2 separate regions of the Homo sapiens genome follow, and region 1 is linked to region 2. Evidence: promoter capture Hi-C in 16 types of primary human blood cells and fetal thymus (Javierre and others, 2016). All regions are on one chromosome and are shown on one strand. Each heading gives the region's core, a stretch centred on a gene start or on the middle of the fragment in contact. The rest is flanking DNA. Distances are from core to core; before and after follow the strand shown.

Region 1 (5,792 bases), core at 2,820-5,319, 88 kb after region 2:
GTTGGAAACTTGGCCAGTCAATCACAATGTCTCTGGGGCCTCCTGCGGAGAAGATGCCTAGACCTGGTTTGGGGACGGTCTTCACATTTCTGTTCCATGGAGCATTGTGGCCACTCTGCAGCAAATGAAAAGGGGAAAGATCAAACCATTGTTCCTTCCCCTTCAGAGCTGGAAGCTACCAAGTCCAGAGGGAGGCGTGGGCTCTGGCCTTGGGGTCTAGTCAGGAACTCCTTGTGTGAGCCTGTGCATGTTGGGTGGGTTGGGCCCTTCCTTCATTGGTGAAGCCTTCAGAGAAGGCTACAACCCAGCGAAGTTCACGGGCCTTGGTTTCCCAGCTGGGCAAGGTGGTGCCCTTTTCTTCACTGCCCTGCACGAGGTGCATGTCGCTCCCTGCCATCCAGCCTGTGTTAGCTTTACCTGCATCTACAGTTTTATTCCCCCTGTCGAGTGTGAGCTCTGTGCTTCCTATTCCAGTATCCCTCTTCATAGAAGCTCTTCCTGACCCTGAAGTCTGTTGGATCCTCTTGTCAAAGATGCTGACGGAACCCAGACTTTTCCCTTCAGAGCACGTATCTCAGGTGGTAATTATAAACTGATTGATTGAAGCCATTAAGTCATCAATGCCTGTCCCCTTCACTGTTCTTGTTGCTGTTGTGTCCCCAGTAATTATTTTAGTTCCCAGCCCATAGTAGGCATTTACATCATAATACATAGTGGTATTTGGGCGAATGAATAAGGAACCAGGTCTGATTCATCTTCGTATCCTCCACCGGCCAAGGCCTTGCCCAGAATCAAACATCTAATAGGAACTTCATAAATATTTATGGAAAAATGGCACAAACTCATGTGAGTTCCAGCTCTTTCAGGCCAGGGTCTTCTCTGGCAGCCTCTTGCCACTCCTCAAGCGTGGAACCTAGGGCAGTCAGTGGCTTTGAGTTACCGTGTTCAGTTGGGAAAGAAAACACAAAAACCAAGTACAATGTGTTAGATACATACCACTGAATGTGATCTAAGAGGCAAGGACTAATTAGAGAATTTATCATATATTTGGTTTCCAGGAACAGAATCCTCTTTGTAACTTGCAAAGCTCTTTATAACTTTTTCAGCATTGGCCCTGGCACTTTTAAATGGCATTTTTTAGGGACACCTGGTGAATAAATGCTGGAGCTGCCTGTGCCTGAGTTGGAGCTCTGTAGCTAGACAGAAAAACAGTTCATCCATATGGTTTGGGGCTAAGTTTTATCCATTGGTTCCATAGGGGAAGGGCCAAATATATAGAGGAAATGGCTGTGGACTTGGGGTGAGAAGATGTGTGAACCTTGGCCAAGCCACTGGCGGTGGTATGACCTTGGATAAGTCACTTAGCCCCTCCACGTGCTTGGTTAATTCTTGGTCAAAGAGGGATATTTAAACCACAGTGTTTTCCCTGCAGGGTTACTGGGAGGATCTCATTCGGCGTAACTTATCTGTAAAGTACTGTGCTGATGGTTAGTATTCTCATGTGTGGGAGAGATGCAACTCCATTTTTCTTGGTGCTAAGGCCCATGATTTTTGGAATCTTCCTTGACTCTTTCTTTATGTCATACCCCACATCTAATTTACCAGCACCAACCAGTATATTCAGAACTCAACCTTTCCTCACCCTCTTCAGTCCCTGCCACCATCATCTTTTCCCTGGACTGCTCCGTAGCCCTGCCAGCCTTCTGTTTCCCCCCTGGCCTCATGGTCTCCTTTCAACACAGCAACCAGAGTGATCTTTCTAAAATGTAAGTCAAAGTATGTCACTTTGCCAAAACCTTCTAGTGGCTTTCCAGAGTAGAAGCCAAGGCTCTTCGGTGGCCTGCAAGGCTCTGCATGAGCTGACCTCCCATGATCTCTCCTCCTCTTGTCCTCATGTACTCTGCCCCAGGTATCCTGACATTCTTGCTGTTTGCCAAGCACACCAGGCATGCTCCTGTCCTGGGGTCATTTGCACTGGCATCCACTTTGCCCCAGACACCACATGGCCAACTCTCTCACCCTCTTACAGTGTTCACCCAATGATGCCTACCCAACTACCCTACTTAAAATTGCAGCCTGTGGCTCCTCCCTTGTCCCCAGCATTCCTGACCACCCTATCCTTCCCTGTTCATGACTCCCCCGCCTCCCCCACACACCATAGAACTGATTACTTTCAAGCATGCTATATGTTTTACTTATTTATTACGCCTAATGTTAGCGTCTCCCCCCACTTGAATGTAATTGCCACAAGGGTATAGATATATCCCAACTGCCTAAAATGATGTCTGGCATGTAGAAGGAGCTTGATAAATGTTTGTTGGATGAATGAGTGAATTTTCCTTATTTGAGTCTTGTGCCTCAGTGGAGGAGACAGAAAGTTACATGTTAAGTTTTGGGGATTCACTGGCTTTTGGAAAGGAAATAGATATATAAATAAAGCTTGAGTTGTTTCAGACCAACTGTCCTCTAAATATTAGGGGACATAGAATCATCCTCTGGGCAGGTCCTGGGTTGGTGGGTGCTTCTTGCAAGCGCAGTGCCCCCTGCAGGCCTCCAGGTTAAATGCACTTGGTTGCACCCACTGCCGAGGTCACATATCTTCCTGCAAGGTTAATTGTACCAGCTGGTCGTTTAAAACAATGTTGATGTTTGTACTAACATATAAAAATATATGAAATATGTATTATGGTGTCGTATGTATTTGGTAGTTTGAATGTAATATTCAAATGTATTGGTAAGAATTAGTAAGCTACAAGACTTCAAAGGGCATTTGAGCATGCAGAGAAACTCCCATTTCTCTCTGGGTTCATGTTCATGCTTCCCTTCCATAAGGGTGCAGAGAAGCCTGAAAAATACTGACCACTGGGCATTCAAAATTGTCCCCTAGTGGATTTGACGTCATCCACCCAGAGCCCAGCAGAGTACTTGCCACATAGTAGGTTTCCAAGAACTATCTGCTGAGTGAATAAAGGAATGATTAATTATTTGAGGTCAATTGATATATTTCATTCAAGCATGATTGCCAATGCACCATTCATCTAAGCAACCTCATTGTCAGTATTTTTTTGAGAAACAATCATAATTAACAGATTCAACTATATTTGCCGAGTATTTGCCCTGTGCCAGGCCCTGAGCTGGGTGCTGGTGACATGGTCATGTGTGGGATGTGGCCTTTGGAGGAGGGGCAGCACACACCCTGGGGGGTGACAGACGCTTCAGGAACTGCAGCCCCAGTCCCAGTCCCGTAGAGTTGGTTGATGTCTGCGTGTCAGCAGTGTTGGGAAAACAATGAACAGGGACAAATTAAATCTAGCTGGGGGAGGAGGGAGCCATTCAATTCTCTAGAGACCAAGTAATTTTTGAGTTGCGGTGGGGGAGGAAAAGGCAAAATCCTAATTATAGCACTGTGAAAATGTGCTGCGCCAGGTCCATCTTGAGCTTGGCTAGCTGAGGCGCCATCTTGGAAATGCCCCCTCCAAGATGGCGGCCCCCTTCTAACCTCACAGAGCTAGGGGGACTGTGAGGCCCCCACATTTGTGGCAGCACCTCAGCCTCCCCGAGCCTCAGGCTCGGTTCTCTTATCGAAGAAAGGCATTTCATTCTTCGAGATCAGGCAGCCAGGACCTAAGGAGCTGTTTTTCCTCCATTGTGCAAGCATGACAAATCATTAATTTTTGATTGATTTGCTTAGAATTATGGGCGCCCCAGCATTCTTTCCGCCGCTGAACAGCTGTATAACAAATGAATATATCAGTGAGCACAAAAGATTGGAGATCTAAGAGAAGCAATTACATTGGCCACCCTCCCCCACCCTCACCGCTTCCCGGGCAATGAAGGGAGGAAATTTTTACCAGAAATTCCTCAAGTGGCTTAAAAAAAAAAATGCCATTTTATAATTGAATTAAATCTTTATCTCTTCATCTTTTGCAGCAGGTTTTTCCAAACACACAGCGGTTCCCCACGTGCTTGGGTTCTATCCATCCAGGAGGAATCTTTAATAATGAAATTTCAACTTGTGAGAATTAAAACCAAAATGAAAAAAAGGAAAAAAAGAAAAGAGCAAATTCTACCCCTCCTTTCTGCTTTTTTTTTTTTTTTTTTTTTTGGTTGCTGCTATTCCTTTAAGATTTTGGAACCGTACCAGTGCACTAAATGTGACCTCCATAACTTTTAAATTAAGAATTTATGCTGGCTTGAAATTTATGAAATATTTCAGCATGAAAGAAAGCCTTTTTCCCTCAGGAAAATTGAGCAATAAATCACAGCACTGTGGATTTACTGCCCTAGAGCCAGCGAGAGATAGGATTTTTTTTTTTTTTTGCTTCATTCTGAAAAAAAAAAAAATGTAATCATATAAGACAGCTTAGCTGCTATCCTCCCACTCTCTAGAATTTTTAATTTCAGCTGTTTCTGCTTGGATTTATTTCCAATATTCCTGCTCGGCTTTTCAATTTCCTCAGTTATTAAATTTTAATTCAGTGCATTAGCATTTAAATTAAAAAAGGGTTTATTTTATCGAAATCGTTGGCCAGCCCCCATCCTGGAGCACACGAATTGCCTGTTTCTGCCATTTGCACAAAATGTGAAATGCAGCTAATGTCTTACAACTTACATTTGCACAAATTTAGAAATAAAATTTCTGGGTTTGGAATAATATTTTCTTTCCAAGAAAACCCTTAATAAGAGAATGGAAAAGAACAACTTCACATTCATTTGGGAGGGAAGAGGAGGGTCGAATGAAACCAAAAATAGCCTTGCCCAGGTCCTGAGGGGAAACTGGTGAATAAGGAATGGGTGGGGCTGGGAAGAGGGGACAGGCACCCTTATTCGGGGCTGGAGGGCTTAGATACACCTTCACCCCAGCTTTACGAGAGTGAGAAGGAGGATCTCACTGGGGTCCTCCTTATTTTATTTGTCATAGAGGAGTCTGGTTTTAAGGTTGGGTCAACTCCACATGGAGTGGGGGAGATGACCTGATTTAACCTCCTTCTCCGCCCCCATTTTTTACCTATGGAGAATCTCAGGTGCAGAGAAAGGAACGAGCTTGTCTGAGGTTCAAAATGAGACTCAGAGCCAGGGAAACAAGCTACATCCTTAAGGAGCACACAGTCCAGTGGCGGAAGATGGTGGAACAACAGCAGCTGCAGTGGGAGTTTCCATTACCTGAGTAATGACTATGTATACCAGGGCTGCGCTTAGTACTTTAGTGACATTACTGTCATTCTGGCTGCACCGTTGGAGAAGGCCTTCGGGCTGTGTGGTCTGGTGGCCACTCATGAGATGCCGACTTGCAGCTTGGGATTCGGGGAAGGCCTTGAGGCAGAAGACCCATGGTCCACCCCAGGCTGGCTCTGCGACTCGTTCATCTTATACATATCATTCTGTTTTTCTGTGCCTCAGTTTCCTAGACCCAATAAATAGTGGCCTCTATAACTATAGGGTTGTCAGTGATTATTTTCATTATTATAGCCAAGCACTCACTAAGTACTTTTACATGCTATTACATGTTTTACCTTATTTAAGCTATCTCAAGTCCCAAGCCAGTCCCGTGAAGTAGGTCCTGTGATGAGCATCTTGCCATTTTGCAGAGGGAGAAATCGAGGCCTTGGAAATACGTGTGACTTGCTGAAGATCGCAGAGCTAGAAAACGGCAAAACCAGGCCTTGAACTCCGATGTTCTAACTCTAAACTCTGTTCTCTTAAGCTTCGGTTCAAATTGAGACTCAGGTCAGTTTGCACAGGGTACAGATGAGTTTGCTGTTTAGGTTGAATCATATGAAACTGCTGGTGTT
Region 2 (5,710 bases), core at 2,771-5,270:
TCATTTTAAAGATGAAGAAGTGGGGGCAAGAAGTTGAGCCATCTGCTGGAGACCACACCGCAGGGGAAGAGGACCAGAGCCAGTGAACCTGGGAACTGACGCCAGAGGCTGGGCTCATAAAATGATGTAGTAATGCTAGTCCTGGAGGCAGTGGGCTAGGCATGGAAGGAGTAAAAAGTTTCCAGAATTTGATAAACTCAGGCACGCCGAGTTGAACCACAGACCCTCAGAAGATGGGAGAGCCTGTGGGTGTCCCTCCCGGACCACGCTTCCACCGATGTGAGCATCTGTTCTTCCACACCCCTGACCAACAGTCATTTTTCCAACGCTGTATCACAGAGCCTGCTCCATCATAGAGCAGGTCTGGTCTTGTCCCCTGGGCGATCACAAAATATGTTGGCTCCTCCACCCACACACCCTCCCCCTTGAAGCTCTGCCCAGAGCTCGCCTGGTGTTTGTAGGGGTCCTCCCCTTCTCTTGGCTTCCCCACACTGGTCACAGTGTCATTGCTCTCGAAAGTGAGGGGGCTAAGATATGACCACAGTGCACCTGATGGGACCATAGCCACCTCATACAGTACCTAGCCACTTTCTTGGGCAGGTCCTCAGGACACTCCAAAAGTTCCACAAGGTGAGTATGCCCTCAGTTAATTCCTGAATGGAGACAAACCACAGCTCTGAGTGATTGCATAGTTTCTGCTGTGGTTTGGGAAATATGTGGGTTCATTTATAAGCTGGATTTTGTCAGGAAGACTTCAAGCTCAGCCATTGTCCCCTGAGGATACCCTTCATGGCCCATCTGATACAGAATGAAGAAAGGAAGCACTCTTCAAGGCCGAGACCCCTGGGGAGGAGATGCCTCTATGGTCGAGATGTGCTGATAGAAGGCCCAGCTCCTGGGACCCATGGGTGGCGAAGAAACGGAAAGGGCTTGCAGTGATTCTAGAAAAAGAAGGCTGAGAAGGACCATGAGCTTTTATAGGCCAGAGGTGCCTGAAGACAGGCTGTGGATTATTTCAGGTTGGTGGTCACTGATGCTCTTGAGTGAAAGCCACAGATTTTCTCCCCCAAAATGCACATACAGACATACATTTGGTTAAGGAGTAGTTCTTGGTTCCCCAAACCAATGCAAAGTCCCCATTTAAGAATCCCTGCTCTAGAGAGAAACTTCCATCTAATTAAGACCCTCCTGGAATCTTCGCTGACCCACGCCCGGGCTGGGTAGGACCCTTCCTTGAGCTGCACTGAGCACCTCACTGTTGGCACTGTACTGCAAAGGTTTGAAGAAGGTGGCCCTTAAACCAGCAACATCAGCATCACCTGGAAACGCATTAGAAATGCAAACTCTTGGTGCCTAACCTAGACCAAATGAATTCAAAACTCTGGGGTGGGCTCAGCAATCTGAATAGGCTCTCCTGCTGATTCCAAGGATCACTTGCATTTGAGAAGAGCTGCTGCAAATAGTTCTCCTCTTCATGGTGTGTGTCTGTCCTACTAGATACAAGGCACCTGGCACATAGTAAGTGCTCAAATGAATAATTATCGTATCAAGTTTTCCCGACTCCCAGGGCAGGAGTTTTTCCTTGGTACCATACAGCTTTCAGCTGTGGTGACTGAGACCCCATGTCATTTTGGATCTAGTTTCTACTCTAAGGCCTAAGATCAGGCTTGGCTCTACTAGGCAGAGGCGGGGACCCGGCCTTGAGGCAGGTGCCCAGAAACCTTCACACAAGGATCGAGCCAGACAGACATCAAATCTGGGAGCATCTTTCCAGGTAACAAGGCCCCAACCACCTGGTGGATGAGGGGCAGGTGGACTAGGGGCTGCCTGCCCAGCACATATGCTCAGGGCTCACAGGACCCAACTCTGCCATGCTCTGCAAGCTGCCCCTACTCACCTTGGTGCCTGCTGCACACCAGCCTGGGCAGAGGCTGCCAAACCTCTGGCAGGGACATACTTACCAGGTTGGTGGGGAGAAAAATGGCCACTTTCAATTTCAATTTTTAAGGAATCTCCAACTTTTAGGGGTCTGGGAGGAAGTGGTTAGAAGACTCCTCTTTTTTTTTTTTTTTTGAGACGGAGTCCCACTCTGTCACCCAGGCTGGAGTGCAATGGCGTGGTCTCGGCTCACTGCAACCTCCGCCTCCCGGGTTCAAGCAATTCTCCTGCCTCAGCCTCCTGAGTACCTGGGACTACTGGCTGGTGTGTGCCACCACACCTGGCTAATTTTTGTATATTTAGTGGAGAAGGGGTTCACTATGTTGGCCAGGCTGGTCTCCAATTCCTGACCTCGTGATCTACCCGCCTTGGCCTCCCAAAAGGATTATTTGCGTGAGCCACCACTCCCGGCCAGAAGACTCCTTTTAACGTCTTGTGTTATGAGTGTTTGTTAAGGGGGGCAAGAGTTGTGTTTCTTAATTTCATGTCTCCCATATAGGGCTAAACTCCCAATTTAACTTATTAGGGAAAGGAGGTGTCTTCTACACAGTGCCTCCGTTTCCTAAAATTTTAAAAATAACTTTTTTGAGGATTGTAGGGAAAACATTTCTGTAACCTTTCCTGTCTCATATTGCTCCAGTTCTTTAAACATTACAAAAAAGAACATTTGATTTTTGAAGGTGGGGGCAGAGAGAAGATACCTGGTTACTCTTAATTTCCAATGCTTTTATTTTTGAAAAGTACCCTTGCAGTTTTCTTTTGGGGAGGGGCAAAGAAGGATTTCTGTTCACCTTGCATCTCATAGAAGAGCAATTCTTAACATTTTTATTCCAAAAATCAACCAGTTGTGGGAGATGTAGGATGGATCCAGTAATCCCTCCTTGTCTCTATAATAGGGCAGGTCCTTCATACTTTCAATTTTTAAAAAATCGGATTTTTTAGGAGAATAGGGAAGAGAATAGAAAAAAAAATCCCTTTTAAACTTTCCCAAGTCACAAGGAGGCAGTTGCTCAAGTTAAAAAAAAAAAAACAACAATAACAACAACAAAAAAACTGGCTATTTTGGGGTGTTGGAAAGAAATATCCTGGTTCACGTTTTATTTCACATGCAAGTTTCTCAAATTTTCCTTCTCTAAATCAACCTAACTGGGGGATATGGGGGTGGGGGGCGCTAATATCCCTTAACCTTTAACCCCTCTTGTCTTACTGTAGGACCAGTTTTTCAAACTTTTATTTAGAAATACATATATATATTTTAATTTGGCAAGGATAGGCAGAAACAGCCGCTTCACTGGCATTTCACATAAAAGCGGCTCCTCAAGTATTTATTTTAAAAATCAGTCTGGCTGGGGGGCTAGAGTCCCCTTAACCACTCTTGTCGGACATGGGGCCAGTCCTTCAAACTTTTATTTTATTACATTAGTTTTTTTGGGAGGAGTGGCAGGGCAATAGAATATTCCCAATAAGCCTTCCAGTCTTCCAGCAAGCCAGCTCTTGAAAACTTTTATTTCAAAAATCAATCTGGTTTTTTTTTGGCGGGGGGGTACAGCGGGGTACAGAGTTCCCATTAACCTCTTGCGTTCCGCCGAGAGCCGGCTCCCTGAACTTTTTTTCCAGCGTGAAAATGACATTTCCGAGGGGCTGGGGGACTGGGGGAGGGCAGAAGGGAGCCGGGGAGCGGGCGCGGGGGGCGCGGGGAGGGCAGGGCGCGGCGCGGGAAAGTTTGGGGGGGCGGGTGTGCCGCGGCACTGGGGCTGGCGGACGGGAGGGCGGGCGCGCCCCTGGACCGGCCGGCTTTGTGTGCCACGCGGAGGCCGGCAGCGCGGAGGCCGAGGCCGAGGCCCCGAGCTCGCGGGCCGCACGGCGAGGCCGGCCCGGGGGCGGGCAGGGCGGCGGGGGGCGGCGGCGGCCCCGCGAGGGGCGGCTCGGCGGCAGCGGCTGCCGCGGCGCGGCCGGTGCGGGCCGGGGGTGGGGGCGAGGGCCGGCGCCCCCCCCGCGCGCCCCCAGCGCCCCCGCCCCCCCGGCCTGAGCGGGGCGGGCGGAGGAGGGAGCGGCGGCGGCGGCGGCGGCGGCGGCGGCGGCATTGTGCGCGCACCAGCAGCCCGGCCCGGGAGGAGCAGGACGCGCCGGGGCCGCCTCCTCCCGCACGGACCCATGAACCAGCCGGGCGGCGCGGCGGCTCCGCAGGTACGACGGGGGGCCGGGGGCATGCACCGCGCGGGGGACCCCGGGGGGCCGGGGCCCGGGGCGCTGCGCCACTTCATTGCAAGATTTGCAAAATGCAAAGTGCCTGGGCACGTTTGCGGGCTTTTTGTGGGCGCAATCGGGAGGGTCGGGGTCCGGAGAGCACCCCCCCGGGCGCTGCGGGGTGCGAGGAGGGTGGGGGTGACGAGGGGGTCTTTTGGGGCCCCCACCCAGCGCCCCCTCCGGCCCCGGGCTCGGACCGGAGCCCAGAAAACAAAGCGGCGAGAGAACAGAGCAGCCATTTCAGTTTGGACAATTCACATTTTGCAAAAATGCAACCCCTTCCAGCTCTGCCCCCTCCCCCCCAAATTTGCAATTTTCCCCTGACCCTCTCTGCGCTCGGGGTCCCCGATGACCCCCCGGGAGGTCTTTCCCCCCAGGTCCCCCATTTTTGCAACAATCTTTTTTTTTAGGCCATATTTTCCTTTCTCAATTTTTTTTTTCTAATTTTTCTTCAAACGGTAGTTTTTTCCCATTAAAACGACGCCACCTAGAGGATACTATTTTGTAAATAAAAAAGAAATTAAAATTGAAAAGAAATATTTTTTATTTCTTATTTTTTCAAAAGTTTGCACTACCAGGCAGTGGAGGGGTAAGAGATTCTTTTTTTTTCTTTTTTCGGGTGAAAATTTTCACTTTGATCTTTCCAGAAGCATGGAGACAATTTTTATTTCTGAAGCCAAATCCAGATAATATGTAAATGAAAATTAAGCTGGAATTTGAATGAATTTAGTTCTTGGAGGGGAGAAAGCAAAAAACCTCCTAAAAGCAAAGTCAGTTTGGGTACCCAACTCATTTTAGTTTGAGAAAAAAACTAATTGGAATAAAGAAAGGAGGGAAATTGTTGAGTTTAGGGAAAACTGAGAGAATTGGCTTTATGAAGCAATTAGAAATTGTACTTCATTGTAATTTGGAACTTGTTTAGCTCAGCGGGCAAAAAAAGACTAATTTCTCTATATGGCAATATTTAAAGTTTTTCTATTTCCACGAACGAAGGATTTAAAAGAGAAAATAGAACCTAAAATGTTGGCTTTGGACACACCCAAAAATTGTAGTTTTTTTTTTTTAATTTTGCATTTACATTTTACTGCATTTAAATCCTAAGATTCTAAAGAAAACAGAAACTAGAAAAGTTACAGTGAAATCCTTTCTTTCTTTTTTTCTGTATTTGTTGGGTTTTGTGTGTGTGTGTGTTTTTTTTGTTTTGATGGAATAATTAAGACTGTTTTCTGATTTTGTTTCCTGAAAGGTCTAGGCATTTCTTTTTTGTTGTTGTTTTATCCAGAAAATGTCAGGAACCTTTTTTGAGCAATATTAAGTGGAAAAAATGTAAATTCATACATTATACAAATTGAGTAGCCCACAGATTTGTAGGAGAGACCGCCATTAAAATAAGATATGCATAATTAACATTATTATGAAAAAACTAACAGTGGATTCACAGAAGCTCATTTTTTATGACATGCAACTGAATCAATTGATGAAGACAAGGATTGAGGAATCCTTGGTAAGGAAGAAAATTTTCCCT

The links. Contacts are between HindIII fragments. The CHiCAGO score rates a contact against its expected background, and 5 or more counts as called.
Region 1: a contact is called between a fragment that was not itself captured here and the fragment with the promoter of ZNF618 in region 2, in 1 of 17 cell types (endothelial precursors). The highest score is 5.1, in endothelial precursors.

Annotation. Positions count from the first base shown.
Region 1 is chr9:113,960,668-113,966,459 of GRCh38, forward strand. All of the region lies in intron 1 of ZNF618 (zinc finger protein 618), which reads left to right. Among named protein-coding and RNA genes, the nearest start is that of ZNF618, 87 kb to the left of the region's middle. RefSeq lists enhancers at 3,350-3,850, 3,489-4,866. The HindIII fragment of the contact is 3,265 bases long and covers 2,438-5,702 here.
Region 2 is chr9:113,872,289-113,877,998 of GRCh38, forward strand. ZNF618 (zinc finger protein 618) reads left to right here and starts at 4,021. Exons shown (of 15, transcript NM_001318042.2): 1 at 4,021-4,125. The coding sequence starts at 4,093. RefSeq lists enhancers at 1,444-1,944, 1,945-2,445. The HindIII fragment of the contact is 22,796 bases long and covers 1-5,710 here.